5 separate regions of the Homo sapiens genome follow, and regions 1, 2, 3 and 4 are each linked to region 5. Evidence: promoter capture Hi-C in 16 types of primary human blood cells and fetal thymus (Javierre and others, 2016). All regions are on one chromosome and are shown on one strand. The core of a region is centred on a gene start or on the middle of the fragment in contact, and the rest is flanking DNA. Distances in the headings are between cores, read along the strand shown. Region 1 overlaps IPPK (inositol-pentakisphosphate 2-kinase). Region 2 has its middle 21 kb from the start of BICD2. Region 3 overlaps IPPK (inositol-pentakisphosphate 2-kinase). Region 4 overlaps CENPP (centromere protein P). Region 5 holds the start of IARS1 (isoleucyl-tRNA synthetase 1).

Region 1 (5,131 bases), core at 1,084-3,583, 370 kb before region 5:
CCCACCTCAGCCTCCCAAAGTGCTGGGATTACAGGCGTGAGCCACCACGCCAGGTTGATTGTTTATTTTTTCTTTCACCTTTTCAAATTTACCTACAGCCACCAGGCTGTTCTAGACCTATGCTATTCATTCTTTTTTTTTGAGACGGAGTCTTGCTCTGTCTCCCAGGCTGGACTGCAGTGGCGCAATCTTGGTTCACTGCAACCTCTGCCTCCTGGGTTCAAGCAATTCTCCTGCCTCAGCCTCCCAAGTAGCTGGAATTACAGGTGCCTGCCACCATGCCTGGCTAATTTTTTTGTATTTCACCACGTTAGCCAGACTGGTTTCAAACTCCTGACCTCAAATGACCCGCCCGCCTCAGCCTCCCAGAGTGCTGGGATTACAGGTGTGAGCCACTGTACTCAGCCTCATTTTTTATTTTAAATCTAAACTTGCTTTACTGTGCTCATTCCTGCTTGGTTGTTGTTTTTAGCTCATCATTTGAAATTGAAGATTATCACTGCACATAGTCTCATGAGAAAATGTTTCCCATCAAGTTAAGGTCAGATGGAGCCTGTGCCTGATGTGGTAACCTGAACCAAGCCTAGCCCACCAGCTCTGCCCTGTGGCCTGTTTGCTCAGGCTGTGGACCGAGGAGGAGAGAGAGCAATTCCCAGAAGGCAGCTTTTTAGGACCTGTTGAGTTCGAGCAGAGGGTGTGTGTCAGTGGGATAAGAGATGGGTGAGGTAGAATAGGAGGAGTCCGTGGTCTTGTGGATGCTGAGCATGCGCCCAGCCTCCTTCCAGCCGGGTGTGGGAGCAGGTGGACCCTGCTACTGTACTCCTTAGATCCACCTCATTCAGTCCAAGAGAGAGGGAGGCCTTTGCCAAGTTTTTCCAGGTAAGGAGAGGGTTGCTTTCTCTGAGAGGACATCAGCTTCTCTCAGAATTGAAAGGTCCCTAATGAGTCCTGTGCTGACCCCCATCCCCTCTACCATGAGAACATGATGCGCCTTCAGCCAGCCTGAGCTCGTCCTGCAGGAGCCGAGGGCCTAGGTAAGGAGATCTGCATGGTCATTGGCTGTCAGCACTAGAAGGAGCACAGTGATGTTCTTCCTGCAGTATGCAAACATGGGATGAGAGAGAGCCTTCTGTGCAGCGCAGGACTTGTAGGAAATGAGGCCTGGGGATGGAGGAACTAGGTGTGGGCTACAGGAGGGTGGGAGGTTGTGCCCAGGGTGGGCAGGAAGGTAAATAGCAGGCCAGCCATAGAGAGGCGTTTAAAGGTGTTCCTGACAGAAGGTGGTCAGCTTCCCCAAGGCCCTTCCACTCAGAGACGGCCCAGGATGATTCTCATTTTGCCTGTCAGTTTGCATTCTGCCTCTGTTTGGGATGGTTGTGCACCTGAACTTTCCCAGGCACAGGTAACCATGGTGTTCTCTGCCTCATGTGGTGTGGACCCTGTGGCATGCTTGAGAGGCTCTCGGCAGCCTGGCATGTTCCCTGGTGTGTGTCTGGAGCTCCAGACACTGACCCTGTGGGGGCTCCTTGATGAGGGAACTTCCCATCTGGGCACAGTTTCCTCGCTGCAGCCTGAAGGTGCAGTACTTGGGCCAGTGGCCACATCTCAGGTTAGTGAAGTCCACAGGTTGCCCCTTTATGCACTGCCGCAGGATTTCTCTCCTGTGTGACGCCTGCGCCTGCCTCCTTCGCCTTCAGCTTGTTGGTTTTGGCTCAGTGTCCTGTCCTATGAAGGTCACTTTAGGTTTGGTTTGTCATTCCATCTCCTAGGTGTCTTCAGATCTGGATCATGCACTTGTCTGGGGCACTGAGCCCCTTCCGGACCACCTCAGCCTTGGGGAGCAGGGGCAGAAGGTGGCCCACTCCTGTCATGACACTAAGCTGTCATGATGTTTTCCTTCTTACTGACAGAGGTGACAGGAAAGACTTTGCCATTTAGTTGGCTTACCAGCCAACTAAATTGATCACATGTGTGGACAAAGCTGCTCACTTCCAGTTGTTCCAGTTTCGTGACCTTTCTGAGAGTCTGAGAGCTTCAGATCATTTCTGCAAATTGTTTTGTTGCCTGGGGAGTTTTGGTGTCCCTTTGGTACCTGTTTAGTGCTTGGGATATTTGTCTGGGCATTGAAGGTGTGAAGCTCAAGCGGTCAGGTGCCCTTCTACTGTTTCTCTTCTCATCTTGTGTTTTAAGATTTCTGGTTCATAGATCATATATATATGTATTTTTTTTGCCATACAGCATGATTTTGTATATTTTAATAATTTAAATGATTATTTTGTAGTGGATGAATTAAGTCCTTTATATGAGGATGTGTTTACAGTTACGTAGAAAAAGCAGGTTACAAAAGAAGATGCATGATGTGGTTATAATTACAAAATGATTAGAAGAAAATAGATGAAAATGTTCTAAGTGGCTGTAACTGATAGTATCACGAATCACTTTTACTTTTTTTTGTTTTTTAAATATTTTCTGAATTTCCTACAATGGATATGTATGATACTCAGGAAAAAAGATTAATTTTTAAAAAGTTTATACTCTTTGATTTACTAATTTCTGTTCTAGTAGTCCGTTCTAAGGAGATAATTAGAAACGTAAATAAAGATCTTATACACAAAGATATCCATTACAGAATCACTTAGAACAGGTTAAGTGGAAAGCCATTGTGCAGTCCTGCAGGACTGTTAACTGGGCCATACTTCCTACTGTGGATGCTGAAAGCACATACGTTTATGTTCTCTGTTTTTTTCTGACTGTATAACATGTGCCCAAGCCCTTGGTCGCTCCCTTTTACAATTTTTAGCTGGACCTAGTTGAAATAGTCTTAGCTTTCTGTTACTGCTAGCATTTTGTTTAAACTAGTGATGTATTCTGCATTTGGGATTTTTAGTGGCGCTCTAGGCTGACGCAGCTGATGTGGCTTCTTTCCTGGTGATGTTCCTTCTTGTCTCATTTGAGCTCATTGGAGAGCTGTGCTTGTGGCTCGCTCTTTGTTTATTCCTTTCTTTGTATCTGCAGTTGCGTGATGAGGTCTGCTGTTTGGTGACTGCAGCCTGTGACAGTGCCTCTCGTGCACGGGGGTTTGTTGGTTTGGCCTTGGCTCACCTCCTACTTTTACACCTTCTGAGGTCACACAGCCACTTTTCTTCTGCCTGACTGAGCCTCCTTCTGCATCAGAATTCAGTCAGAGCAAAGCTCCCCAGTGACTTCCTGTGTCTTCTGAGAGCTGCGATCCAGGAGGGTGAGAAAAGCATCATTACTGTGTCTGCAGAGAGCAAGGCTGTGCCTAGGGCCCGGCCACTCCTGCCTTGTTGCCAAGCGGTTGGGAGATCTGAGGGCCCGGACTTGCTCACAGTTCCCTGTGGCCCTCACTGTGGGCCTCTAGGCAGCCCTGCTTCCCCTTTACAGGCAGTGAGGCTTTCCATGCCTATAGGGGTCAGCCCCATGCACGAGGTGTGCCTATCCCCACAGGCCTCCCCATGTTCTGAGAGTTGTGTGGGTGTGTGACCTCCCCCATGGCCCACACCTGTGCCTGCTTCAGTCCTGCAGAGGACACCATGAGGTCAGGACGGAGTTGCCGAGGCTTGAGGACATGCCCCATACAGGTTGGACAAGGGGCCAGCACTTACTGCGCCCTGACCCCAGGCTGTCTCCAGTCTGGCCTCCCTGCTCTTGCCTGCAGAGTACTGGGCTCCCATCCTCCACAGGCATCTTGGTGATGTCACTTTTCATCCGGTGTCAAATGTGCTTTGTATTTCTATCTGAGGCCATACATTCCCAGTGAAGCGAAGCTCACCCTTGGGAGCGCTTCCTGTTGGAGCCCAGTACCGTAAGCCCTGCTTCTTGTTCCCTCCACGGTCCTACGCATCCTGGACATCCCTTTCTGGGTTGCAGAGGTGGACTTCGGCACCTCCTGCCCCTGGTGACTGACAGACCCCGGGCAGCCTTCTCTGGCTGGGACAGAGCTGGAGCTGGAGCTGCGGGGGTAAGCTAAGGAGGGTCTACAGGGAGGGCAGCCTCTTGAGACTGGACATTTGGGATCCCCCATGGCCCCTGCCTGGGAGTCATCTTCACAATTCGGAAGAAGCTGGAGCTGAGCATTGCTTCTAGAAGGCATCCTGAGGGGTGACCCCTGCTGCTGTTGTCTTTTTCTGTCTTCCCTTCCCATGAAAGTTGTCTGATCTCAGCTTCAGGTTATCTCCTCAGCCTGATGGAAGACTTGACCTTGGTCCTTGTCTTTTGACAGATCTCTGGAACAGCTGATTTTGTGGGTGATACCCCTCCAGAGTGAGTCCTCTGTGGGTGGCGGGAAAGTCTCTCCTCATCTGTCCTGAAAGGCTCTTGTAGTTAGTAGCTTTAATTCCACCCATAAGGTGCCCCCTCAGGCTTCCCATTGGCAGGTGTCCCTTTTAATGTATTGGGGTTTTTGTGGCCTTCTATTTTTATTTAACACCAATTGTTGCTTCTTCTCTCTGAAAATATAGAATATCAGAAGGAAGGAAGTGAAAAACATCCAATATTTCTCCATGAAGAGAACAAGTTTTGTTAACACTTTGGTGCACTTTCTTCTAGTCTTTTTCTATTTATTGTCAAGCATCGCTTAACACCAGGGATGCATTTTGAGAGCTGCATTGTTAGGTGATGTTGTTGCCATATGAACACACCTAGATGGTAGAGCCTGCCCCATGCCCAGGCTGTGTGGGGCAGCCTATGGCTCCTAGTCCTCAGACCCGCGCAGCATGGTTCTGGACTGAGTACTGCAGGCCATTGGGACACAATGGGAAGTGTTTGTTATCTAAAGGTAGAAACTGTGGTATTATAATCCTATGGGACACACCATTGTTTCATGCAGTCCATCACTGACCCAAGTGTTGTTATGTGATGCATGACTGTATTTTGTCTTTATTGGGTAGTTAACAACACTACGTATCTGTTTCTGTTTTGGGATTTTTTTTCACTTAATTTTATAGCACAAATATGTAGAAAATCCTCATGCATGTCTTGAAGGGTGCTCACGTGTTCCCAGTGTTGCGTTGGACATCCTTGTGGGTGGGCTTTGCCGAAAGTCTTCGTACACACTTCTTTGGACTTCTGATGCTCAGGCTGGGTTCTTGGGTGAATTAGGCCCCTTGGC
Region 2 (5,346 bases), core at 2,453-4,952, 490 kb before region 5:
TCAGCCTCCCCACTAGCTGGGATTACAGGCATGCAACACCACGCTGGCTAATTTTTGTATGTTTAGTAGAGACGGGGTTTCACCATGTTGGCCAGGATGGTCTTGATCTCTTGACCTCGTGATCCACCCATCTTGGCCTCCCAAAATGCTGGGATTACAGGCGTGAGCCACCACGCCTGGCCTATAATTCTTTTATAAACATTATGTGTTGAAAATGGGACATATTAATCTGTAGAAAGATAACTGTACAACCTAAGAATACTCACAATTTATTTCCTATACTAAGATACATCAAATCCTAATTAGATACTCCCTTCTTGCTGTTTTTAAGCATTTAAACAAAAATGTTAAAGCTGCCAGATTTTTTAAACTGTAAATAACTTTTAAACTGTGCTCAGAGTTAGATCTCAATAGACTTTTTTTTTTTTTTTTTCAGATGGAGTCTCACCCTGTCGCCCAGGCTGGAGTGCAGTGGCGCGATCTCGGCTCACTGCAAGCTCTGCCTCCTGGGTTCATGCCATTCTCCTGCCTCAGTCTCCCGAGTAGCTGGGACTAGGCACCCGCCACCATGCCCGGCTAATTTTTTTTCTTTTTTTTTTTTTTTTGTATTTTTAGTAGAGACGGGGTTTCACCATGTTAGCCAGGATGGTCTCGATCTCCTGACCTCATGATACGCCCGCCTCGGCCTCCCAAAGTGCTGGGATTACAGGCGTGAGCCACCGCGCCCAGCCCTCTATAGACATTTTAAAAATAGAAACAGAAAACACTTTTTTAAAAAGATATAAAAATTAAAGTTAACATGAAAATTAAGCATTTAAAGAATGATTTTATGCTTTCAATATGGAATAACAGGGATCAGATTTGCCTTTAAGCCTGTAACAAATAAACAGAAACAGATGAAGCCTATGAAACAATTCTTTTCCGACACTGGCCCTTGGAGGGTGGTGAACAGTGTCCTGGGAGGGGAGACTTACAACTGCCCCCAGCTCATGGCCTGGAGACAGTATTCAGGGTGCGGGTCCAGGAAGAGACTCTAGGGAGAGCTGGTGGTCCGCTGGCATTGAGAACAGGGAGTTGGGAGCCTGGGGAGGCCAAGGAGAGAGAGTTCCCAGGGCAGGGTACCTAAGAGGAGAAAGCTGTGCAGATGAAGAGAAAGCTCTGAACGATTTCAGAGGGTCCCTTTTGAGTCCTCAGCTGAGTGCTAAGCAGTGTACTTAGTATGAGGGAAACCACCTGAGGCTGGGGAAAGACCCACCAGAAAGAAGCAGAGAGGCTGCGCTCAGTGGCTCACGCCAGTAATTCCAGCACTTTGGGAGGCCAAGGTGGGAGGATCACCTGAGTTCAGGAGTTCGAGACCAACCTGACCAACATCGCGAAACCCAGGCTCTGCTAAAAATACAAAAAAAGTAAGCCGGGTGTGGTGGTGGGCACATGTAATCCCAGCTACCCGGGAGGCTGAGGTGGGAAGATGGCTTGAGCCTGGGAGGTGCAGGTTGCAGTGAGCCAAGATCACAGCACTGCACTCCAGCCTGGGTGACAGAGAGAGACTCTGTCTCAAAAAAAAAAAAAAAAAAAGAAAAAGAAAAAGAAAAAAAGGAACAGAGAGAACAAACGTCAGAAATCCACAGGACAGGAATAGTTCCCGCTGCTCCCACCAGCCAGAGAAGAAAACCTCTTACTTCATCAGAGAGGGCATCAGATAGGGTACTCAGAAGTGGTGAAATTAGTCCCTGAATAAAGATTGCTCTGGTCTCACATTACATAGCTTAAGAGCATAACAGTTGGGAAGATCAAGCTGTTTACAAGTAACTTAACTGCATCCTTGAACACTGTTCAATAATATTCATAGGAATTCAAAAGGAACCAGCACCAGCAAGGCAAAATCCATGATGTTTGGCACACAAAGGAATAGGAAACTAAGACTCATAATGAGAAGAAACATCTATTAATATAAATAGACCCAGAAATGACCCAGATATTGGAATTAGCAGATAAAGACACTGAAATAATTATCATAACTGTATTCCATATGTTCAACAAAAATCAAACATGTTAGCAGGAATATAGGAAATTTTAAAAAGATCCACATCAAACTATTTGAGGTGAAAACATTATGTCTGAGCTGAAAAATACACTAGATAGGATTAACAGAAGATTAGACAATGCAGAAGAAAAGACTGGTGAATTTGAAGAAATAGTAATAGAAACTGTCTAAAATGAAACACTAAAAAGACTTAAGAAAATTAATGGAGCATCAGTGAGTCGTTAGACAAATTCAATCAGACTAATGCACATGTAGTTGGAACTCCTGCAAGAGAGAATAGAGAAAGGGAACATTATTGAAGAAACAGCCCCAAATTTTCCAAACCTGATCTAAAAAACTCTAAACCAGTGGTTCTCAACTGGGGGTTATTTTCCCCCTGAGAACATTTGGCAATGTCCAGAGTCATTTTTGGTTGTCACAACTACCCGCCTTTTGTAGGCAGAGACCAGGAATGCAACTAAATTTCCTATAGTGCACAGGACAGTCTCCCCAGGCCCCATAGGGCTGAGGTTGAGAAACCCTGCTCAACCAAGAAGCTCAATCAACCAAGAAGCTCAATCCAAGAAGCTCAATCAACTTCAAGTGCAACATAAAATAGAGGAAAACAGCACCAAACACATCATAATCAAATTGCTGCTTAAAACCAGTGATAAAGAGAAAAATCTTAAGAGCAGCCAGAGAAGGCCAGGCATGGTGGCTCATACCTGTAATCCCAGCTCTTTGGGAAGCCAAGGCAGGTGGATCACCTGAGGTCAGGAGTTCGAGACCAGCCTGGCCAACATGGCGAAACCCAGTCTCTACTAAAAATACAAAAAATTAGCCGGGTGTGGTGGCAAGTGCCTGTAATCTCAGCTACAGGCTGAGGCAGGAGAATCACTTGAACCTGGGAGATGGAGGTTGTAGTGAGCTGAGATCATACCACTGCACTCCAGCCTGGGCAACAGAACAAGACTCTGTCTCAAAAAAAAAAAAAAAAAAGGAGCAACCAGAGGAAAAAGATATAGTATTACAGAACAACAAAAATAAGAAACAGCAAATTTTTCCTCAGAAACAATGCAAGACAGAAGAGAGTGCAGCAACATCTTTGATGTACTGGGGGCTAAGGATGGGGTTATCAACCTTCAATCAACCTTCAATAAGCAACTAAAATATTATTTAAAATAAGGCAAAATGGTCTGGGCGCGGTGGCTGAGGGAGACCGCTACAGAGGGAGACCCTAAAAAGAAAAAGAAAAGGCAAAATAAAGACTTTTTCAGACATGGTGAAAGTCAAGAAATTCATCACCAGCAAACTTGTAGTATAGGAAAATTTTTTTTGTTGTTGAGACAGAGTCTCGCTCTGTCGCCCAGGCTGGAGTGCAGTGGTGCGATCTCCGCTCGCTGCAAGCTCCGCCTCCCGGGTTCACCCCATTCTCCTGCCTCAGCCTCCCGAGTAGCTGGGACTACAGGCACCTGCCACCACGCCCGGCTAATTTTTTGTATTTTTAGTAGAGACGGGGTTTCACCGTGTTACCATGTTAGCCAGGTTGGTCTTGATCTCCTGACCTCGTGATCCACCCACCTCGGCCTCCCAAAGTGCTGGGATTACAAGTGTGAGCCACTGCACCCGACCAGAAATTTTTTTAAAAAGTCCTTCAGGCAGATGAAAATGATATCATTTGAAATCTGCAAGGAGAAATAGAAAAATCCACAATAATAATCAGAGATTCCAACATCCCTCTCTCAACAATTAAAAGAATGAATAGATAGAAAAAAATCAGCAAGGACATAGAAGACTTGAATGATATTATCAATCAACTTGATCTAATTAACATTAATGAAATACCCCGCCCAACAGCAGTAGGAATGCTTTTTTTTTTTTTTTTTTTTGAGACGGAGTCTCACTCTGTCGCCCAGGTTGGAGTGCAGTGGCGCGATCTCGGCTCGCTGCAAGCTCCGCCTCCCAGGTTCCGCCATTCTGCTGCCTCAGCCTCCTGAGTAGCTGAGACTACAGGCGCCCGCCACCACGCCCGGCTAATTTTTTGTATTTTTAGTAGAGATGGGGTTTCACCGTGTTAGTCAGGATGGTCTGGATCTGACCTCGTGATCCGCCCGCCTTGGCCTTCCAAAGTGCTGGGATTACAGGCGTGAGCCACCATGCCCGGCGTTTTTTTTTTTTTTTTTGAGACGGAGTTATGCTCTTGTTGCCCAGGCTGGACTGGAGTGCAATGGCGCAATCTCGGTTTACTGCAACCTCTGCTTCCCGGGTTCAAGCGATTCTCCTGCCTCAGCCTCTCAAGTAGCTGGAACTACAAGTGTGCACCACCATGCCCGGCTAATTTTTGTACTTTTTAGTAGATACAGAGTTTCATCATGTTGGCCAGGCTGGTCTTGAACTCCTGACCTCAAATGATCTGCCAGCCTCGGCCTCCCAAAGTGCTGGGATTACAGACGTGAGCCACCGCACCAGGTCAGAATGCATTATTTTTAAGTGACCATGGAACATTTACCAAAATAGACCATATTCTGAGCCATAAAACAAGTTTTAATAAATTTAAAATAATTTAAATCATACAAAATGTATTCTCTAATCACCATGGAATTACATAAAAGTAAATTAGAAAGCCCCCTGGCATTCCATCCCAGGCTTTCTGTTATAGTTTGCGCTTGTTAAATGGTCATAGGCCGGGCACTGTGGCTCACGCCTGTAATCCCAACACTTTAAGAGGCTGAGGTAGGCGGATCACTTGAGGTTAGGAGTTCAAAACCAGCCTGACCAACATGGTGAAACCCTGTCTCTACTAAAAATAAAAAAATAAAAAAAATTAGCCAGGTGTGGTTGCATGCGCCCATAGTCCCAGCTGCTCAGGAGCTGAGGCAGGACAATTGCTTGAGCCTAGGAGGTAGAGGTCGCAGTGAGCCGGGGTCGTGCCACTGTACTCCAGCCTGGGAGTGTGAGGGACACCAGATGAGGGAGGCCTCATTCACCATGATCACTTCCTGGCCCTTCCCAAGTTTCTGTTTTCTTACACATTGTTACATTTCTTGCCTGCTATATAAACCCCTGGTTTTAGTCAGTCAGGAAGATGGATTTGAGACTGAGTGCCCATCTACTCGGCTGCAGCACCCAATTAAAGCCTTCTTCCTTGGCAATACTTGTCTCAGTGGTTGGCTTCCTGTGTGGTGAGCAACAGGACCTAGACTGAACCCTGGCGTTTCTGTAACAATAGCAATTGTCCTAAGTCATAAGTACCATTTGGTTATCAAAACATTACTGTCAGCAGAGCCCTGCCCACAATGTACCAAGATCCCTTAGGGTGGAAG
Region 3 (5,322 bases), core at 235-2,734, 350 kb before region 5:
CTGTTCCATGTTTGCTTGGGCAGAATGTGTAACCTGCTGTTGCTGGGTGGATTTTCTATAGATGTGTTCGGTCTAGTTGGTTCATAGTGTTGTTCAAGCCTTCATTCTTGTTGACTTTCTGCCTCGTTGCTCTGAGTGTTAATTTAAGATAATAACCTGAACAGTCTAGTTCAGGTTAATACCAACTCCATTTCAATCATAGACAAAGTTTTGCTCCTCTAAAGCTTTGCTCCCTCCCCCAACCTTTGTGCTGTTATTGGGATACAAATTAGATGTTTCTACATGATGTTCTGGGTGATACAGATTTGTAATTATTACCTTATGCAGTTGTCTCTTAAATTATATAGAGGAACAAGAATTACAAAATGTGTTTATACCTTCTTTTATATTTGCCTATGTAGTTACCTTTACTGATACTCTTTATTTCTTCCTGTGGATTTGAGTTACTATCTAGTATCCTTTATTTCAGCCAAAAGGACTCCCTTTAGTAATTCTTGTAGGGTAGGTTTTCTAGCAATGAATTCTTTTAGTTATGGTTTATTTGGCAATGTCTTAATTTCTCCTTCATTTTCAAAGGATAGTCTTGGTAGATATAGAATTCTTGGATGGCAATCTTTCTTTTAGCACTGAGGATATGTCATGATCCTGCCTCCTCCTGGCCTCCATGGTTTCTAATGAAACCATGGAGGAATCAGCTGTTAATCTTAGGGAAGGTGCTTTGTATGGGATGAGCCACTTCTCTCTTTTTGCTTTTTAAGATTCTCTCTTGGGCTTTGTCCTGTGACAGTTTGATTATGGTGTGTCTAGGTGTAGATCTCTTGGTCTTTATCCTAAAATTCAATCATTTTCTCTTCTGCCTACTCAAGCCTGTTCTTGAGCCCCTCTAGTTACTTTTTCATTTTAGTTACTGTACTTTTCAACTAAAGAATTTCTTTCTTTCTTTTTTTTTCTTTTTAGACAGGGTCTTGCTCTGTCACCCAGAGTGGACTGCAGTGGCGTGAACATGACTCACTGCAGCCTTGACTCCCTGAACTCAAGCCATCTTCCTGCTTCAGCCCCCACCAAGTAGCTGGGACTACAGGCGCACCCCACCATGCCCAGCTAGTTTTTGAATTTTTTGTAGGACAGGGTTTTACCATGTTGCCCAGGCTGGTCTCGAACGCCTCAGCTCAGGCACTCTGCCTACCTCAGCCTCCCAAAATGCTGGGATTATAGGTGTGAGCCACCATGCCCAGCCAGAATTTCTTTTTGGTTCCTTTTTATAATTTCTACCTCTCTATTGATATTCTCTATTTGTTGAGACATTATTCTCCTTGTTCTTTTTAGTTCTTTGTCCCTAGTTTCCTTTAGCTCTAAGCATATTTAAAATAGTTGATTGAAGTCTTTGTCTGGTAAGTCCAGTGTCTGGGCTTCCTCAGGGCAGTCTAGTGATTGCTTTTTTTGTTGTATATGGGCAATACTTTCTTGTTTCTTTGCGTGTTTTGTGATGATAGGTTGAAAGTGGGCATTTGAAATAATATAATGTGGCCCCTCTGGAATTAGATTCTACTCCCTCTCCAGGATTTTTTATTGCTGCTTCTTGTAGTTGTTACTGTTTGTTTAGGGACTTTTCTGCGCTAATTTTGTGAAGTCTGTATTCTTTGTCATATGTGGCCAATAAAGTCTGCTCAGTTAGCTTAGTGGGCAGCTAGTGGGTTTCCTTCCAAGGAAACCATGAAGTTAAACAATTGCCTCTAAATGTTTTTGACAAATGCCCATGGGGAAAAGGCCTCCTGCACGGGTGAGTTCTGAGCCAGGTCAGTGAAGACAGCCTTGCAAGTGTGATCTTTCCGGGAACGCTTGCAAGTGTGATCTTTCCGGGAACCCAGAGACAGGTCAAATAAGTGATTGTCTGAGAACGAGGCTTTGGAGATGTCCTGCCCTCATCTGCGTCCTCTGTGGCTGCTGGGCAGCTGGTTTTCACTGTGATTGCGGCTGTTCATTTTCAAGGTTCTGAACCTTGGAGCTAGAGATACAGGGATGGGAATAGGGCATTTAAAGTGCCAACAAGCTCACTGATCTTGCTTAGATTTAGCTGTTTTTCTTGAATAAATGCTTCCTGGATTGTTGCAAGTCTATGGTCAATTTCCAGAGTTCAAAACTTTTTGATTCTGACATTTTTTTTTAACCAGTTTTCTGATTGCCTTTACAGAGGAGAGAATTTCTGGAGGTCATTGCTCCACTATTTCACCAACATCACCCCTTCTTTTCTTTGTGGTGTGATTACTATCTAAGCTCTTAGGGGAAAGACGGTTATGTGAGCCATGCCCCTTGGGATGCAATTTTCATGGTCACCATTCACTTTCAACATATGTGACAGATGTTTAAGAAATACATTTTACTATAAAGCACTACCTGCTCATATAACTGGTAACATATGACATGGCATGAATTGGATTACCTGCCTTCCCAGGTAACTCATATTGTCAGATATATTTGCATATCTTTCCAGACTTCTTCCTGTGCCCACAAAAATATGCATGTAATTCAGGTGGAAATGAAGTGATCTCTGTCCACATGTTCTAATGTTTACATGCCTGTACGTGCATACACACACCCTTGCAAAGCAAAAATGGGATCATGCCATATGTACTTTGTCTAATTGCTTTTTTCACTTAATCCTTGAGGATTGTTTGTGATATATTCTTTAGGGCTTTTTCAGTGCATATTTGGATATATGCATGGATATTTGCACATAAGCTTTTTTTTTTTTTTAAGCAAAATTGACATTACACTGTATCCATTGTTCTGCCAGTTGCTTTTTTCCTTGAATAAATTTTGGTGACTTTTAACTCTACCTCTTTCTGGTAGTGGCTGCATATCATTTATGCATTTCTTCATTCAATAAATTGTTTGCTATGTGCTGGTCCCACTAGTGGATGGGCTGTGATTTATTTAGTCATTTCCCTACTGATGAGTGTCTCTCTTGGTTTCAGGGTTTGCTATTAGCAGTAAGGCCGCAGTGGACATTCTTGTGTCTGTACCTTTTTGCCCTGTGCTACTTCTTCTAGGTTCCTTGTAGATTTGCTGAGCCAGGGGACATAAGCATTTTAAAGTTTGGTGGATACCAGCAAGTTGCCTTTCAAAATGTTATGCCAACTTATCTTCCCACTGGCAATATGAAATTTCTTGTTAAGGACACCTTCCCTGTTACTGGATATTATAACTTCTGAAGGTTTGTTACTCTCATTACCAAAATTTAGCCATGTAATTTGAAGGTGTTTGCCACTTTCTTCCCTGCTCCTGTGAAGGGCTGGCCTGGGGGCCACGCCACATCATGTCTCACAGATGGGGCCAAGGTTTCCTTGAATGGAAGTCAAGTGGCTCCCTCCGCCACTTAGTGATGTGCACCTGCAAAGGTGGTGGCACCTTTTCCGGGGCAAGGCTGCAGCTCGTCTTCATTGTCTTCATCACTGATGCTGTTCTGTGTGTTCAGTTGGCACAGTGCAGTCACCAGCGCCAGTCACCTCATGCCCTCCTGTTGGTGTTTTCACAGGTAGCAACTGGGAAGTGGAAGCAGATCAGCAAATACTGTCCCCTTGATCTCTACTCAGGGTAAGAGAACACTTCTCCTTTGCCCCCTTGTGTCAGGTTCCCTGGAGATGGGTAGGGCGGGGGCCAGTGCCTGGTGGGGGGTATTTCGTGAGGTAGGAAGGCAGGGAAGGCCCTGTTCTGTCTTCAGGGCTCTCTTTTGCCATCAGCGCTGTAGACACCTGGGGCTTTGTGCTCCGTGCCTTGTCTCTGTGCTCACAGTTTGACGTGCTTGCTCACTTTTGGTTGTTTCCTCATCTGAATTGTGACTAGATTTGTCTTCTACTTATGTCAGAAATCAACTGGTGCTCAGCCTTGACCTCCATCCGTCTGGGCCCTCATAGTTTGGTTGTTTGTGCCTTTGATCTCTCCCTCCTCTGTGGATATTAAAAAGTCTGCTGCTGCAGTGGCTATTTCTGCCCCGGCAAGGTCTGCTTGCAGCCTCTGATCAGGTGCCTGGGCTCTGCTCCCCACCTTGGCCTGCCTCCACGCTCCCCGGCCTTCAGAGCTTTGCTGTGCATCCTGCACATTACTCTCCTGGGGCAGCCCAGAGTCCGGTCCTGGCCAGAGCCTTTGTGGTCAGGAAGGCGGTAGTGGCTGGGAGCTGGGGAGGGTCAGTCCGCAGTGGGGCCTGGGGGCCCAGCGAGCAGGCCCTGGGGCTGAAGGGGCAGCAGAGGATGCTGGCAGGGCTGAGGGTGGGAGCAGGTGGAGAGAGGCAGGACCTGGGACTCATGGCAGTGCCCTGCCCCAACTCAGGCACCCCCACCTCACACCCCCAGGAGAGAGTCCTTGGCCACAGAGCGATGTAGATTTGTGTGCCTTTGTTGTCCTTTTTGATCAGCACAGCTCCTCTTTCCAATCTCCTTTCCCTCCCTGGGACCCCTGTTACTGCAGAGCTGTTCTGGTGAGTCCGGTTTTTCTCGCTCCACTGTGTGAGTTTCTTTCCTCTTTCTTCCCCTGCTGTCCTCCAGCCATTCATTTCGTGCCCCTGCCTTTGTCAGTGCTCAGCACTGCCTCTGAGTGCGTGCCTGGTCATCATGTCAGTGCTTTTGGTTAGATGCTCTTTTAAACTTCCGGGAACAAAGATCGAACGCGGAGTTGTCTTTGGAAGTTAAAAAGTTCACAAACATTGGGAATGCTCATTCAGAAGGTGGCACCAACACCGCTCACTCCATGGCTTCAGCGAGTCTGGCGGTGCCCTCACCTGTGGGTCCCATGTGGATTTCCCTGTGCACCTAAAGGCTGTGAATTGTGAAGCATTCAGTAATAAAGATTCATTGTTGAGAATTTATTAACGTGTCAGAACATAAGTAGGGAAACCTCCCTGGAATGTTGTAGAATGCAGGCTTTTGGGAGTCAGCTAGAGTGCGTGGATACTGGATGCCTTTCTGAATGTGTGCTTGTGGGCTGTCCCTACTGGCAGGGTCAGGCTCGTGTGCTTGCATGGGCAGCTTGGCCTCCAGAGGTTCCTCCGTTGGGGGTAGGGGAGGAGGCCATCCTTGCAGCTCGTCGCTTGGAGGACGAGGGCTCCCTGGGGCTCTAGCCTCTCCTTGGCTCCCAGCACTCCCTTCGTGGCCCATCAGAGGTCTCCTGCTGCCCCTGAGCCTTTGGAAGTTGCGGCAGGAGGAACAAGGGAGGCATAGCAGCCCTTAACCCGTCTCGGGTTGGGCTGTGATGCAGCTGGTGGGGTTCCCACTCCTGTGCCTCAGTTGGGTCCCTCACATCTCCCGAAAGTCTGGGGTCAGGGCCAAC
Region 4 (5,470 bases), core at 1,529-4,028, 330 kb before region 5:
TGGATATATCCCTAGGAGTGGGATTTCTGGGCCACAGGGATGAGTATACTTAGTTTCAGTAGCTACTGTAAAACAGTTTTACCTGATTATGTTCCCTGCAACCGGTTAGGAGTCACCTGTGCTCCACACCATCTCTTACACTTAGTTGTGGGTCTTCTGAATTTCACCCATTCTGGTGTGTGTGTAGTGGTATCTTGTGATGAGATTAAGTACCTTCTCATATGTTTACTGGATTTTTCCTTTTGTGATCTATTTAAGTCACAATTTAAGTCTCTTGCTCATTTTTTTTGGTAGAGTTGTCTTTTTCTTATTGATTTGAAGGCATTCTTTGTATATTCTGGATAGAAGCCCTTTGTCAATTTTGTGTCCAGTAGGTATCTTTTCCCACTATGTAGCCTATGTAGTTTGTCTTTTGACTTTTTTTTTTTTTTTTGAGACGGAGTCTCGCTCTGTCGCCCAGGCTGGAGTGCAGTGGCGCGATCTTGGCTCACTGCAAGCTCCGTCTCCCGGGTTCACACCATTCTCCTGCCTCAGCCTCCCGAGTAGCTGGGATTACAGGCACCCGCCACCATGCCTGGCTAATTTTTTGTATTTTTAGTAGAGACGGGGTTTCACCATGTTAGCCAGGATGGTCTCGATCTCCTGACCTTGTGATCCGCTTGCCTCGGCCTCCCAAAGTGCTGCGATTACAGGTGTGAGTCATTGTGCCTGGCCCGTCTTTTGATTCTTAATGGAGTCCTTATAAGAACGGTTCATAATGTTAAGGTAGCCTAATTTACCAGTCTTTTTCCCTTTTAAGAAGTCTTTCTTTGCCTTAAGGTCCTGAAGATATTTTCCTGCCATATCTTTAGAAAATTTATTGTTTTGTCTTTCACATTTTGTTGGGTGACTGTCTGAAACTGATTTTTGAAATGGCAGGAGGTGGGGTTTTATTTTCTTTTCAAATGGAATTATCCTGTCGTCACAGAAATTGTGAACACTACAGAGTCATAACAAGCTTTGATATCTGACAAATCCTTCTGTCTTCTTCAAGCATATCTTGGCTGTTCTCGACCTTTTGCATATCTACATGAATTTGAGAATCACCTCACTCAGTTCTGCAGGAAAAGCACAAACAAAACTGCTATCCCACAAAAATTAAAAACTAAAAAAAAAGCCACTGGGATTTTCATGGTGTAGCGTTAAAATGATGAGTGTTGAAATCTATACAATACTGAGTCTTCCAACATGGACATTTAAACTTTTATATATATATATATTATTCTGATAAAAATGTTTTATGGTTCTCTTCAGAGAGGTCTTATATTAATTTCACGATATTTGATGGTTTTAGATGTAAATGGCATCTTTAAAAAGATCTTACTTTAAAAGTGTTTGATTATGCAGTAATGTGATTGGTTTTTCTATTTTGACTTTGCATACATCAACTTTGCTCACTTGTATTAATCCTAACGATTATAGTTTCTTTTGGATTTTCTTTATATGTAATCGTAGTCTGTGAATTTGATGTTTTCCCTTTCCTTCCCAATCCTTATACCTTTCACTTCTTTATTTTACTTCACTTTATGTAGTTAATTTGTGATAGTATGAATTTTAGTCCTGTTCCAAATCTCAAAAGCATTTTACCATCAAGTAAATTGTTTAATGTAGGTTTTTTTTTCCTTAAGTGGCTGACATCAGATTAAAGAAGTTTGTTCCCTTCTTTTCCTGATTTATTAAGAGGATTTTTTAAAATCAGGAGCAGATGTTGAACTTTATCAATGCCTTTTCTATTTCTATTGAGATGATCATATGACCAAAATATTTTCTGTTAACGTGGTTAATTATGCAATTTGTTGTGATGTGTTCTTTTTCTGTATGATGATAATTGGGTTTGCTAATATTTTGTTTAGGGATTTTGGCAGATGTTTATGAGTGATAAGAACTGTGCTTTCTCTTTTTGTAATGTCTGTGTTCAGCCTTGGTGTCGAGGCCTAGACCTGCCCGTAAAACACTTAAAAGATGGTCTGTTTACTCTTTCTCTGTTGCCTGGAAGAGGTGGATTAACAACGGCTGGGTTCAGTGGCTCACACCTGTAATCCCAACACTTTGGGAGGCCAAGGTGGGAGGATCACTTGAGCTCAGGAGTTCAAGACCAGCCTGGGCAACATAGCGAGACCTCGTCTCTAATAAAAGTAATTAAAAATCAGCCGAGTATGGTGGTGCATACCTGTAGTCTTACCTGCCTGAGAGACTGAGATGGAAGGATTACTTGAGCCCTGCAGGTCGAGGCTGTAAGTGAGCTGTGATGGTACCACTGTGCTCCAGCCTGGGCAACAGAACGAGACCCTGTCTCAAAAAAAAAAAAAAAAAAAAAAAAGGAATGGTATTATTTCTGACTTAAATGCTTTGTAGAATCAGCTGTGAAATCAGCTAGGCCCCATAGTTGTCTTTGTAGGAAAGTTTCAAATTTTAGTAAGTTGTATTTTTCTAGAAATTTTTTGTTTTATCTATGTTTTCAGAATTTTGGCATATGATGTTGTTGGGTAATGTTCTTTTATTATCTTTTCATGTTTATAGGATTTGAAGTATGCTCTTTTATTCCAGATGTCTGATATTTGATTTCTCTCCCTCTCTGCTACTGTCTGAATGTTTTACCCTCCCACCCCCCCAAATTTATATGTTGAAATCCCAACTCCCAAGGTGATGGTGTTAGGAGGTGGGGCCTCTGGGAGGTGATTAGGTCATGAGGGTAGAGCCCTCATGATTTGAATTCAGGCCCTTATACAAGAAACCCCAGAGCGCAAGCCAGCCCCTTTCACCATGTGAAGTGACAGTGAAAAGAGGGCTGTGGATAAGGAAGTCGGCTCTCGCCAGATAGCAGATCTGCTGGCGCCCTGGTCTTGGACATCCCAGCCTCTAGAACTGTGAGAAACAAGTTTCTGTTGTTTATAAGCTACCAGTTTTGGGCATTTCGTGATAGCAGCCTGAAGGGGCTAGGACACTCCCTTAATCATTCCCACCAAGAGTTTAGTTTCCTAAGAATCAACTTTTGATCCATTTGTACTCTAGCTAACTGAATAGAGTGTAAGGATAGGAGCTGCTCATTTCCATCTGCTGTGAAAGGTTTTCTCAGGCCCCAAGAATAGTGTGTGGGCCTGAGCTAAATCCGTGCTTTGAGGTTCTCCCCACTCCCTCCCATCCAGTCCTGCCCTTTGGAAAGTGCAGCTTGGATGTTTTCGAACGCCAGATCCTCCAGGTTATATGCAATTGAGGGGAGTGGTTAAAAGGGAGACAGGAGATGATGGTCTGTCATCAGTACAAATATTGAGGCCAGTGATGTGTGAGGCCCAATTCCTTTTCTTTTACAACTGTTTATTTTTGTGAAAGCGAGAGCTATGCCATCTAAAACAATGCAAACCATATATGAAAGTCCAAAGAAGGAAGAGGAGAGAGTGCCTCACATTCTGCTCTGTAGAGGAGACAGTTGTGAGCATTGTGGTGCCTGTCCTTCACCTTTCTCCCTGCCCGCGTCACACACATGTGCACATGTACAGCTTTACGTATGTCGACTCTGACAGTGTGGTGTGTGTTGAGCTGTCCCTGGTCAGTATGGACAGACCCACATAGCTTGGAGCATGTGTTGAAGAGTGTAAATGTCAGAGCCAGCGTACCGGGTTTGAGTCCCTGCCTTGCCATTGACAAGCAGGGCATGACAGACAAGTGATGTCTGTGTCTGTTGCTTGTCTGTAAAGTGGGACGCCGGCCGTGCTGCCCTGTTGGGCTGCTGTGAGGGTGGAGCAAGTTAACACATGCACAGCCTGTAGAAGGGTGGCCGTCTGCCGTTGTCTCTGGTGGCTGTATGATGTTCCGGAGGGAATGTCGTTCTAAGCGATGCCTTGCTGAACACCCCCTGCGCTCTCCTTGCAGGTGTCGAGTGATACTCACTTGATACTCTGAGTGTGGCCAACATGCGGGGCTCAGGTGGCTTACTGCTTTTCCTTCCAAAGGCCGACTGTGGTGACCTTGCTGAAGACAGATCATCCGTCTCAGGGTCTGGAGTCGGGGTCCCACACTGCTTGCCGTGAGAGGTCAGGGGGCGGTGCTGGCCTCTGAGCAGCCCCGTGGCACTGAGGGCTGGCCCAGGTGCTCTCACAGGGCGACCTCCTGACGCCCGTGCTCACCGTGGCCCTCGCTCCTAATCCCACCCTCAGGTTCTGAGGCAGGAAGCAGTTCCCACACTTGGCTACTGGGAAGGAAGGTTGTGTGGGGGGGCAGAGGCTTCCTGTGTGACCTGGAGCTGATCTTTCCCGCCCCTGCAGGTGCAGCAGTACCGCGTCGCCATGACTGCCAAGGACTGCTCCATCATGATTGCACTGTCTCCCTGTCTGCAGGATGCCAGGTGAGGCCCCCACTGCAAGGCATGCAGCCTGGGTCTAACGGGGTTTTATGGACAGTTGGTGAATTGTTAATAGGATAGTTGGTTTCCCCATATTTAGAGACTCCATGGCGGAGTGACATAACTTCCTTGGCCTATGTGACATCATGGGGCTTACTAACTCTCGCCCTCTAGAAGCTTGTAATTCAGTCAAAAGACAGATTTATGGAGAATAACTTAAAAGGATTGTTAGTACATTGAAAGTTACTGTTTTCTAAGAAAATACTCCCAAGAGCTCAGAAACAATGTGGACAGTGAGCTGCCCATTGCATTCCCTCAAAGAAAGCCAGCCCCTGAGATGTGTGGGTACCTGTGGCCCTTGTTCCTCGGTCTCCCACAGTGGCAGCATGGCGCACCTGCCTTTTTACCACCACAGTCATTTGAAAGCCTGTGAGGCGCGCATTCATTCTGCTTCCTCTTCTGAATAACCAGCCTATGTGCCGCCCCTCTCCCTAATGTCACTAGTTTTGTCCAGTCCCCTCTGTTTCTGGGAATTCGGGATGAAACTGATAATCTCATAGTCGTTAGACAGCATCTCCATCACCGATCTTCAGGGGTGCTAAACCCTGCACCCAGTATTTGCGGAATGTTCCACATTCTTCTAACATGTGTTCCTGGGTCAAGATGACCTTGGTTGCTGGCTGCCAGCCACTCACTTTCCCGGTGCTTTTGAACTAAACAGTTCCCAGGATTCCTGTTCCCTGGCAGGCACAGAATTGTTTACTTTCCAATATGAAATACTGAGGAACATTATAGGGCTAACTGAAGTAGAAAAAAGGTTGTTCTATTTAGTTGAAAACTCCTGTTATCCCCTAAGGAAATACCTACAGGGCTAAGTTATGAGGAATTCCTTAACTGGATTAAGCTGGTGGTGTTCGATGAGAGAAAACCCACGAAGATACCACTGTTCAGCAGCCCCCCGACCAAGGATGCAGCTGGGCAATGGAAATGTGCTTGGATGCAGGGTGCCCTTAGGTGGGCTGTGAAAGGCCGCTGAAGGACAGACATGTTACTCACCTCGTCTAGCACCTGGGAATCTCTTAGTGCCTGGTC
Region 5 (5,021 bases), core at 2,522-5,021:
TTGTGTGAATTATAGGCTATTTGAAATTTTATTTCTGATTATGTCAAATACACCTTCCATTTTGTCATTTTTGTTTAAACTGATAAATTACAAGTCAACATTGAGTTTTATACTTGTGTTTTGGTGAATGGTTAACTGAAATATAGGACATTTCAGACCAACATCATATAAGAGTTCTGTGAGGACCAGGAGAGGAAGCCAAATACAGTTATCTTGTCATTGCCTCTAGGAATTAAGGAACAACATCTAGATGTACACCAATCCCAAAATTCTAGTTAGACTAAAAGCTTATGAAAAATACCAAGTGCCTGAAAGATAGGTAGTCACAATTAGGAGTCAGGACCCTGAGCCCAAATAGGGAAACAGATTTAACATTACATTAAATAAACCAACCTGCCTAGATTTCAAGACATACGTCTCCTATCAAAATGGGCTCTGTATGAAATAGTATTACATAGGCCGGGCGTGATGGCGCACACCTGTAATCTCAGTACTTTGGGAGGCCAAGGCGGGCGGATCATGAGGAGGTCAGGATTTCAAGACCAGCCTGGCCAACATGGTGAAACCCCATCTCTACTAAAAATGCAAAAATTAGCTGGGTGTGGTGGCTCACACCTGTAATCCCAGCTGCTAGGGAGGCTGATACAGGAGAATCACTTGAACCCAGGAGGCAGAGGTTGCAGTGCTGAGATCATGTTGCTGCACTCCAGCCTGGGTAACAGAGTGAGACTCCATCTTAAAAAAAAAAAAAAAAAGAAATAGTATTATATAGTTCCAAGGGACTATCATTAAGCCATGATGTGTGTACCTAAAATTAGTATTTATTGATTTACCTATGCTGAATATAAACTCTTAACTGTTGGGATTTCATCTGGTGTGTTAACCATTATGACCCTAGGGCTTATGCTCTATGTTTTTTTAGTAAGGGTCCAAGGAACTAAATAACTTGAAGAGTAATTCTGGATTCCTAGGTTTCCAAAACTTCAGACTTCAAGGAGAGTGTGGACAACTAAGCAGCAGGATAAATAATTCACACTTTCTACCTTCTCTTGATGTAGATCACATTTGTACCTTATTTTCTATTGCTGCATAGCAAATCATCTCAGTAACAATCATTTATTTTATGCACAAATACTGCAATTTGGTCAACACTCACTAGGGACTGCTGATCTGTGCTGTGTGCTTTCACTGGGGTGGTTCAGCTAGGGCTACGGGATCTGTTTCTAAGATGGCCCACTCAGTGCCTGTTCATGGGCTTCCTTACAGCATAGCAAAAAAGCTCTAGGAGCAAGTGTTCTCAGAGGCAGGAAGCAGATGCTGCCTGTCTCTTAAGGCCTGGCCCAGAAACCGGCTCAGTCACTTCACTGTATTCTACAGGTTTAAACTGACACACAGCCCAACCAGACTGAAAGGGAGGGGACACAGATCCTCACTTCTTAGTGGGAGGAGTGTCAGAATGTGTGGCCGTAATTTAAATCCGGCACATGTTTCACAAGCAGACAAATAAGTAACATCAAGTAGCCTTGCCCACCCCCCAGTTCCTGCTCCCCAGATGAAACCACCTTCAGCAATTTAATTTCTCTAGTATTTACCTCCATGTTTCTACCTAACATGCTTATGCTCTGATTTCTTGGTTTTTCACTTCCAGACACTACATATTCTGAAAAGGTGAAAAAATTATTCACCTCTTCAGTCCAAGTAATATATTTTGACTACAGTTAACTTTTTTGCTGGAATTTTTTCATTTGCTTAACTTTTTCTAGACTTAGTCTTCCCATACCTTCCAACTGTGGGACATGATGAGGTTTCTCTTCAAATAGCCTGATCAATCCTTTATTCTTTAATTCACAGTGCCCCCCTCTTCCCTTTTTCTCCTCTTTCCTTTCTGCCTTTGTTACATGCCTAGACAGGCCACAGTACCAGGCGTTATCAGTACCAGCTCGTATTCCTTATCCGAAGAGAAGACTAGCTCTCTAGCTCATTACAGACAGCCCTTCCCCCTTTCCCCTCTCTCTTACGTGCCCACCTTATCTAAAGAAAGTTAAAATGTTTAGCCAACTGTGGTTATTTTAGATTGTGAGGCCCAACTCCGGCCAATGGAGAAAGGGTACAGGGGCAGGGTTTGTGTCAGGGATAAAGGTTCTCGTGCCCCTTTGTTCTGGTGTGCTCTCATGGTGACTGGCCAAGGAGAAGCACCCCTCTGCGCAGAAGTAAAATTGCTTTGCTGAAAATCCTTTGTTTGAATGTTCAATTTCCTTAGGATTTTGAGCATTATTTCCAACACAACAGTACTATTAATATAAATGTTTCTCAATCAAATTTTTAAATAATTAGACTTGGCCTACCTCACCTTTGTCCAGGAGCCCTCTGTCTGGCTCTATCTGGGCTCTCTGGATAGGTGACAAAAATGAACTGAACAAGGTGGCAACGTGAGGAATGTGAAAACTTCAAACACATTCCAAATACTTTCAGTTAATTAACAAGATTTGCAGCTATTAAATTATGTACGTTATGTGAGTATAGTCAGAACACTGAGTTACCCATGATGGAGGACATGAAACCACTTTAATCCTTCACACAGGGCCAAGACGGTAAGTAAAGTTAAATATATGCTGAACAGACTATCAAAATGTTCCTAAACTTAATAAGAAACTGCATTCTACCTATTCTAGGCCAGATAAATTTTTTATATCCCTCTAACGGATACAATAGGCAGCTACGGAACTACTCCCAATTTGGCAAGATCCAGAATTTCCTTTAGAGGCTCTGGGGCCAAAGCCCGAGGCCTACTGCCCTTTGCAAGGCTCCAGATTTTAACCAGCAGATCAGTAAGGTACCAAGCCGACTCATAGCAATGATAATAAGTATGCAGGCCGGGTGCAGTGGCTCATGCCTGTAATCCCAACAGTTAAGGAGGCTAAGGCAAGCAGATCGCTTGAGCCCACGAGTTTGACAGCAGCCTAGGCAACATAGCAAGACCCCGTTGCTACAGAAAATACAAAAATTAGCCGGGCGTGGTGGCGCTAGCCTGTAGTCCCAGCTACTTGGCCAGGGATGAGGTGCGAGGATCATCTGATCCGGGGAGGTTGAGGCTGCAGTGAGCCATGACCGTGCCACTGCACTCCAGCCTGGGCGACAGAATGAGACCGCTTCTCAAAAAAAGAAAAAAAAATCGTTTGTGCAATGTTTTCATTACCGGAAACATTTTAAGTAAAATACAATAAAACTTTTAAATCTGGTTGTCAGACCCTTCCTTCCCTTTTGTTATTATCGTTTCACGTAGCCATTTATGATAGGAGAAGCGGCTTTGGGGTCGGCGGCTCAGGGCCCAAAAGTATAATTATTAAAGCCACCTCTCCGGAAGTTGCTGTTTGTCGTTATCAATTTAGGTACGAAGTGTCCAGTCAGATAAATACTGACAAAAGCAAACAAGATGAAGAACATGAGCCCCGACCTCGGCGCCCCTTCCCAGTGGGCCGTCACCTACCCGGAGGTGCCCACAACCCGAGTGAGACCTCGGTCTACACTACTGCAACGGATACAAGCAGCACGCACAGCGCCGCCCTCAGCGCTGGTTCGTTTTCCACGTGGAGGCGCAAAACCAGCAAGCACCACTGTCGCACCATCCGAGCCAGTGGGCGCAATCATGTCCGGCGCGACCAATCGGCGCCTGGCTTGTTGGCAGGTGTCAGGCAGCGCGCACTGATTGGCCGGTGCGGAGCCTGTCTCCTTCACTGGATCCCGCATTTTCAGCGCGTTGCATCACCTCCGTGCGCCCGGTTGCAGCGTGGACGCCGGATGAGTTGCTTTTAGGCTTGCTGGCCCGCGGGGCTGTCCAGGCACGCGAGGCCCCTCAGGTACGCCCTCTCTTCCCTGCAGGATCCGGCCCTCAAAGACGAGGGTCACGCACGCGTTACAACCCCGAAACAGTAGCACAAGATTTAATTTTTAAAAGAGCGTGTTTCTTCGGGGCTTGCCGTTCGTTCGTTTCCAGCCTCAGGAATTTATGGTCGCCTTTTTGAATGAGGTAGTGTTTGAAATGAGTAAAATCTTTTTAAAATGATATACATAGTATAAATTGATATAGCTGTGACTTTATGTATAGGCAATACGTATTTTTATATGTCTTAATTTATTACCTTCAATGGCTGCGAGATACTTATTTTATTGATGTACCGTAATTTACTTCAGTCACCATGAATATTTAGATTGTTTTCAGTTATTTGCCTGGAGAAACAATTATTCGGTGAATGTCATTGTATACACATTTTGTACATTTGCATGAGTATACCTGTGGAGTCTATGTTAATAGGATATAACTAAATTGAGGAAACGTTTGAGACGGTCCCACTTTCAGGTTACATTTGACTTAATAGATTATGAAGACCTGAGAATAAAAGGAGAAACAGAAATGGATTTAGAGGAGAATGAAAAGGGGGAACAGAAATAGGCTTATAGGTAGGATCCACATGACTTGATGATTAATTGGTTGTGTGTATCTTCTGAGTAGTGTCAGGGGTGACTCAAAAATGTCATGCCTAAGTAATGGGAAGAATATTGGAACCACTAATACAGTAGTTTAAAAGGGAAGCAATTCTGGAAGGAATTATGAAATTTTAAACAAAACATGGTTTTAGTGTGCGTTTCTAAAATATATTGAGGCAAAATAATATGAAGTAATGTGAATAATATGTAGTTAATATCAGGGAGGGTGGTCTCGAAATTGCTGAACGGGAAGTTGAGGTTAAGGTGACCTGAAGGAGTTGTGGAGCAGCGAAGAGTCAAGGGCCTGGATTATAATAAGAGGGAAGCAAAGGGGATGGCATCCCTCTGCACAACAAGGTTGTTGTGCAAGGTTAACCTGCTCTGTCCCTGCCCTGTGGTTGCTGGATGCTGTTGTGCATGGACAGCTCTCCAGTGGATTCGATGGGCCATAGCAATCCTGTGATTTATGCATGGAGGCTGCTTCTCCTCAGCAGCTGCCATAGCCCGGTCGCTGGTACATGATTCTTCCTGAATAG

Evidence for each region. The method cuts DNA at HindIII sites, captures the fragments that hold promoters and counts their contacts. A CHiCAGO score of 5 or more calls a contact.
Region 1: a fragment that was not itself captured here is called in contact with the fragment with the promoter of IARS1 in region 5 in 9 of 17 cell types (M1 macrophages, erythroblasts, naive CD8 T cells and 6 more); the score reaches 8.0 in M1 macrophages.
Region 2: a fragment that was not itself captured here is called in contact with the fragment with the promoter of IARS1 in region 5 in 1 of 17 cell types (naive B cells); the score reaches 5.4 in naive B cells.
Region 3: a contact is called between a fragment that was not itself captured here and the fragment with the promoter of IARS1 in region 5, in 8 of 17 cell types (erythroblasts, monocytes, endothelial precursors and 5 more). The highest score is 9.0, in erythroblasts.
Region 4: a fragment that was not itself captured here is called in contact with the fragment with the promoter of IARS1 in region 5 in 1 of 17 cell types (endothelial precursors); the score reaches 6.6 in endothelial precursors.

The regions. Positions count from the first base shown.
Region 1 is chr9:92,662,913-92,668,043 of GRCh38, reverse strand. All of the region lies in intron 1 of IPPK (inositol-pentakisphosphate 2-kinase), which reads left to right. Among named protein-coding and RNA genes, the nearest start is that of IPPK, 4.7 kb to the left of the region's middle. The HindIII fragment of the contact is 6,089 bases long and covers 1-5,131 here.
Region 2 is chr9:92,783,303-92,788,648 of GRCh38, reverse strand. No RefSeq gene overlaps it. Among named protein-coding and RNA genes, the nearest start is that of BICD2, 21 kb to the right of the region's middle. The HindIII fragment of the contact is 8,618 bases long and covers 1-5,346 here.
Region 3 is chr9:92,641,024-92,646,345 of GRCh38, reverse strand. IPPK (inositol-pentakisphosphate 2-kinase) reads left to right here. Exons shown (of 13, transcript NM_022755.6): 7 at 3,536-3,594. Among named protein-coding and RNA genes, the nearest start is that of IPPK, 26 kb to the left of the region's middle. The HindIII fragment of the contact is 2,515 bases long and covers 227-2,741 here.
Region 4 is chr9:92,618,397-92,623,866 of GRCh38, reverse strand. It overlaps CENPP (centromere protein P), which reads right to left. Exons shown (of 8, transcript NM_001012267.3): 8 at 3,338-5,470. It overlaps IPPK (inositol-pentakisphosphate 2-kinase), which reads left to right. Exons shown (of 13, transcript NM_022755.6): 12 at 4,302-4,381. LOC100128361 (a long non-coding RNA gene) reads right to left here. Exons shown (of 1, transcript NR_036505.1): 1 at 3,334-5,470. Among named protein-coding and RNA genes, the nearest start is that of IPPK, 49 kb to the left of the region's middle. RefSeq lists a silencer at 2,816-3,086. The HindIII fragment of the contact is 3,558 bases long and covers 1,000-4,557 here.
Region 5 is chr9:92,292,447-92,297,467 of GRCh38, reverse strand. It overlaps IARS1 (isoleucyl-tRNA synthetase 1), which reads left to right and starts at 3,771. Exons shown (of 34, transcript NM_002161.6): 1 at 3,771-3,857. MIR3651 (microRNA 3651) reads left to right here and starts at 4,921; the gene lies at 4,921-5,010. It overlaps SNORA84 (small nucleolar RNA, H/ACA box 84), which reads left to right and starts at 4,875; the gene lies at 4,875-5,007. NOL8 (nucleolar protein 8) reads left to right here. Exons shown (of 17, transcript NM_017948.6): 17 at 1-110. RefSeq lists an enhancer at 3,340-3,389. The HindIII fragment of the contact is 5,187 bases long and covers 290-5,021 here.